Linked DNA regions of Homo sapiens: region 2 is linked to region 1. Evidence: promoter capture Hi-C in human tissues and cell types (Jung and others, 2019). All regions are on one chromosome and are shown on one strand. Each heading gives the region's core, a stretch centred on a gene start or on the middle of the fragment in contact. The rest is flanking DNA. Distances are from core to core; before and after follow the strand shown.

What was found. The method cuts DNA at HindIII sites, captures the fragments that hold promoters and counts their contacts. A contact is called where the count stands out against the background at its distance.
Region 2: a fragment that was not itself captured here is called in contact with the fragment with the promoter of PRLR in region 1 in 1 of the 25 tissues and cell types used here (H1 embryonic stem cells).

The regions. Positions count from the first base shown.
Region 1 is chr5:35,229,089-35,231,900 of GRCh38, reverse strand. It overlaps PRLR (prolactin receptor), which reads left to right and starts at 1,414. Exons shown (of 10, transcript NM_000949.7): 1 at 1,414-1,633. The HindIII fragment of the contact is 8,302 bases long and covers 1-2,812 here.
Region 2 is chr5:35,099,446-35,102,257 of GRCh38, reverse strand. All of the region lies in intron 2 of PRLR (prolactin receptor), which reads left to right. Among named protein-coding and RNA genes, the nearest start is that of AGXT2, 53 kb to the right of the region's middle. The HindIII fragment of the contact is 4,719 bases long and covers 1-2,812 here.

The DNA of each region.
Region 1 (2,812 bases), core at 165-2,664:
GACGTGTTATTGATCAGGAAGTATTAGGTTATTATGCCTAGGTAGTTGCTTCTGGGATTCCAGTCCAAAAGGATCACCAAAGCATCATGGGATTTTCAATGGCTTCCTGTGGCTTGGCAAATGCTCACTGCTAACTGTGATTTCCCAGTTATCCAGAGTAGCAGTCAAATCAAAGGGGAAAGCCTCATGTTTCAATAACTTAAAACAAAACAAAAAAAAAAACGGCCAGGCGCAGTGGCTCACGCCTGTAATCCCAGCACTTCAGGAGGCCAAGGTGGGTGGATCATGAGGTCAGGAAATCAAGACCATCCTGGCTAACAGGGTGAAACCTCATCTCTACTAAAAATACAAAAAACTAGCCGGACATGGTGGCACGCGCCTGTAGTCCCACCTACTCGGGAGGCTGAAGCAGGACAATTGCTTGAATCCAGGAGGCAGAGGTTCCAGTGAGCCGAGATGGGGTCACTGCAATCCAGCCTGAGCGACAGAGCGAGACTCTGTCTCAAAAAAACAAACAAAAACAAACAAAAAAAAAAACTCAGTAACCTTGGTTTAAAGTATTTCCTTGGTGGCCCTCTGGGTTGTGTAACAATCGGATGCATTAATTATTATGGCATCAAATGACACCAGCAACATACATAGTCAGAAATAACTATTTGATTCAGGCAGGTGCTATTATTTGTTTCAGCACTGTTAAATGTGGGGTTTTTGTTTTTGCAAGAGAAAAGGCGGTTGTGTGTGGTTTCAAGAAGAAGAAAAGTCAGAACAACATGCAGCCCATTAGAAAAGATAAATTCTTTATTTGTGGAAAACAACAGAAGTGGGGCTATTTAGGCACCGCCAATGTTTATTATATTCATATGGCAGAGAATAAACACAGCACACTAGAAGTTTGCGCTTTGGGTATTAAAAAAAAAAAAAAGCAAAACCTTCTTAGGTCACTGACTATCTTCTTTTGCTCCTTTCTATCTGACTCCTCAGGCAAGGTGCAATTCAAATCCCTGGAGAACCTCTCAAATATAGCTGCTGTTCAATGTTACTCAGAAATAAGGAAAGAAATTTGACACGGAGACACTCCACATCTTGGCTGCCTGGAAAAATATCATCTTTGAGGTCATTCAACTCACTAAGTCATTTTTATTATTGTTTTGTCTGTCTATTTTCTGGTACAGTCTCAATGAAAGATATGTGGCCCTAATCATGCAAAACCGATCTGGGGGGAATCAGTTGTTTCTTCAGGTCTTCGCAGGATTCCAGCTCCCCCAACTACCTCCGTCGCCTTCTAAAACTGGCAGGCTCTGGACGTTTTGCATGCTGAAGAAAATCACTGTTTTGCCTCCAGCAAGGAACATAAATGTTGCAACACTGACTCCTCCTCTCATGAAGAAAGAGTGAACAAGTGCACCGAGTTGAGCTTCTTCTCACAGAGCCACCGGGCTGGGGACCGGGGAGCGGAGGCTGAAATCCCCAGACGCCGGTTTTCTGGGCTGGGCTTTCTGCCTTACTCACTCCTTCTCCCTCTTTCTGGATTTTACCGACCGTTCGCGAAACAGCTTTCCACACAATGGAGCTTCATGTCCTCGTGCAGGAAGTACTCATCGACTGATGTGGCAGACTTTGCTCCCTGGCAAAAGTGAGTACCCATGGCGAGCTGAGGCCGCCTCCGACGGCGCGCGGCAGGGGCTGCGCGGGCGGCCGCTCTCCGGGATGCGGGTTCGAGGCCCGCGTGCTGAAGGGGAGAGCGGGGCCACCGGCGCGGGCTCCTGGAGAGAACGCCAGCCAGGAGCCAGAGTCGGCAGCCGGCGGGGAAGCCCGGGATCCGCCCGCCTCCCGCCCGGATGTCCCTTCTCAGAGGGGCTAAAAAATACTCTTAAGGTGCTTTGCCTCCACCACTGCCCCCAACCCCAGCTTTTACAAACTGCACTCGGCTCGCATTCGCCTTTGTCAAAGGCATCTTCACCTGTATCCTTGAGCATGAGTTTCGGCGTTGATTGTGGGATTCTCAGAATGCAAATTATTTGCGTCAAAATAAAAAGAAAAGAAAAAAAGAGCGGGGAGGGGGAAGGGGCGCAGACAGGTGATGTGATGAAAGCCGGACTCGAGACTCTCCCATCAGCAGCAGCCGCCGCCGCAGCAGCCTCGCGGGCATCCGGCGGGGAAAGTTTAGGGTTAGCAATGCTGACCTGAAAGGTGTTGCTCCTCCCAAAAGTCAGCGGGGGTAGGGGCAGATGAGCAGCCTCCGGGCCAGAAGCCGGAGCTGGACGGAGGCACCTAGGCAGAGGAATTGCAGCCCGGGAGGAAGCTGGAAGGAGAGCCCGCTGGAGAAGGGAGGAGGGAAGGGAAGAGGAGTTGGTTAAAGTCAGGCAAACTCAGGTAACTGGAGGGCCGGCCCGAGTGCTACGGCAGGGGAAGGCAAGGGCTGGAGTTCTGGCTCTTTGAGTAGAAAACTATCCTTTTAGTGACCTCTACCTGTATCCTGGGGAAGCAACCCACACTGCCCTGAAAACAAGCAACGTAGGGGATTCTATGACTGGACTTGAAAATGGTTGCAAAACATTATTATTAGTCTGGAGGGATCACTTTGTCTTCATTTGTCAAGTTGACCGGGCAAGATTTCCCACCTGAAATCGTGCTTCACTTGACCAGGGAAGTGCTGCTAATCCCAATCCTGACCATCAGCTGTGCAAACTTGGGCAAGATACTTACCCTCTCTGGGCTTCGATTTTTTTTCTGCAAAGTTTAGGGAATTAATTAATTATATATATATATTATAGAAATATATATAATATATATATAAATGTTTAATGAGGTG
Region 2 (2,812 bases), core at 195-2,694, 130 kb after region 1:
CCTATATCCACCATATCACACCATAATTTTTATGTTCATAAATGACCCCAGTACTCCATAAAAAGTTTCAATTAGGAAATCAGAGAAGCGCCTCATTTTTAGAAGTGTGCACCCAATAGATTAAAAGTTTGGCCGGGCGTGGTGGCTCACGTCTGTAATCACGGCACTTTGGGAGGCCGAGGCGGGTAGATCACGAGGTCAAGAGATGGAGACCACCCCGGCCAACAGGGTGAAACCCTGTCTCTACTAAAAAAACAAAAAAATTAGCTGGGCATGGTGGCACGCACCTGTAATCCCAGCTACTCCAGAGATTGAGGCAGGAGAATCATTTGAACCTGGGAGGCAAAGGTTACAGAAAGCCGAGATTGCGCCACTGTACTCCAGCCTGGGTGACAGAGCAAGAGTCCATCTCAAAAATATATATATATATAATATATAAAACATATATATGTTATTTATAAGTTATATATATGTTTTATAAGGTATATTTATGTTTTATATGTATATATGTTATATATATGTTTTATATATGTTTTATATTTATATATGTATGTTTTTATATATATATGTGTTTTCATTCCTGAAAGGGTGTGCTTTAGATATTTAGACATGATGATGCCAGAAAAATATGTTTTAATTGTGTGCATTTATGAAGGAAAAGGAAGAATGGGCTGAGAATTATTATTGCCTTGCTAGTTGAAGATTTCACAATGGAGGTTGTCCCAGTTCTTGAAGTCTCCACATTTCCTTGATTTCTGATATTGCGATTTTTATTCACTTCAGCTACTAACCCAACCACCTTGCAGCCACATCTCAGTGGGCTTCATCATCCATCTGCCCTTGAGTTCAAATTAATGCACACAAAGAGGTTACTGGAGGAATCAAGAAGGTCTCAGAACCTATCCCTTAGGAATATGGAGAGCCTGTTGATTAATGGAAAAGAGTTGCACAACTCAAGGCCAAGTGCTGTTTCCGTGGATCTGTACATGAGAATACTGCATTCTATATGACTTTATAAAAATAGTCACCCAACAGGTGTTGTTGAACACCTGTAGACATGTTTACAGGTGACAGTGTAGGGGGCTGAATATGTAGATGAAGCCAAACTGAGATTGTTCTGGAACTTTGATGATGGTATTCCAGACGGGACAATGGCAGTGGGTCAGGCGTTGGAGGCTTCCGTCTTAATCACTGCTCTTCTACTTGGTTAAATGTAGTAGTTACCATCTGCAGTAGGCTGTACTGGTTGTCTCTGGATTGTCCCTAGATTTGCCCAACTAAATAAAGCTAGCCATTATAACACCCAGCCTCTTAGCTCAGAGCACAACAGCCAAAGGTTTATTTCTCACCCATGTGACAGTTTGCTGGTGGTCAGCATGAACTCAAGAGCCTTTCATCTGTTGGCTGTACTGAGCTTTTAGGACCTCACAGTCCTCAATTTCATCTTCTTCAGGCCAGTAATGGAGGAGAGAGAAATAGAGGGGGGAATATGTAAAAAGCTTTAAAGACCAGGACTAGGCTAGAAGTACAGTCATGCATCGCTTGACAATGGGGATACTTTTTGAGAAATGCATCCTTAGGTTATCTTGTTGTTGCTTGAACATCATAAAGTGTACTTACACAAACCTAGATGGGATAATCTGCTGCACACCTAGGCTATATGGGATAGCCTATTGCTCCTAGGTTACAATCGTATACAACATTTTACTTTACCGAATACTACATGCAATTGTAACACAATGGTAAGTATTTGTGTATCTAAACATAGGAAAGGTATAGTAAAAACACAGTATAAAAGATTTTTTAAAATGGTACACCTGTAAAGGGTACTTACCATGAATAAAGCTTGCAGGACTGGGAGTTGCTTTGGGTGAGTCAGTGAATGAGTGGCGACTGAATGTGAAGCCCTGGGTCATTACTGTACACTACTGTGGACTTTATATACACTGTACACTTAAGCTACACCAAATTTTTTTTAAATTTTTTTCTTCAGTAATAAATTAACCTTAGCTTGCTGTAACTTAACTTTATAAACTTTCTTAAACTCATTTTGACTTTTTTTTTTTTTTTTTTTGAGACAGAGTCTCGCCCTGTCGCCCAGGCTGCAGTGCAATGGCTCGCTGCAAATCTCGGCTCACTGCAAACTCCGCCTCCCAGGTTCAAATGATTCTCCTGCCCCAGCCTCCCAAGTAGCTGGGATTACAGATGCCAGCCACCAGGCCCAGCTAATTTTTTTTGTAGTTTTAGTAGAGACGGGGTTTCACCATGTTGGCCAGGCTAGTCTCAAACTCCTGACCTCATGATCTGCCCGCTTCAGCCTCCCAAAGTGCCGGGATTACAGGCGTGAACCACCGTGCCTGGCCTTGACTATTTTGTAATAATACTTGGCTTAAAACACAAACACATTGTTCAGCTGTACAGAAACATTTTCCTTCTTTATATGCTTATACTATAAACTTTTTTCTATTTTTAAAAGTTTTTTTGTTTTACTTTTTAAACTTTTTCATTAAAAACTAAGACACAAACATTCACATTAGCCTAGAACTACATAGTGTCTGGATCGTCCCTATTGCTGTCTTTCACCTCCACATCTTGTCCCACTTGAAGTTCCTCAAGGATGATAGCATGCACGGAGCTGTCAGCTCATGACAACAATGCCTTCTGGAATACCTCCTGAAGGATCTGCCTGAGGCTATTTTACAGTTAACTTTTTTTAATAAGTAGAAGGAGTACACTGTAAAATAACAATAAAAAGTATAGTATAGTAAATACACAAACCAGTAACATAGTTATTATCAAGTATATATACTGC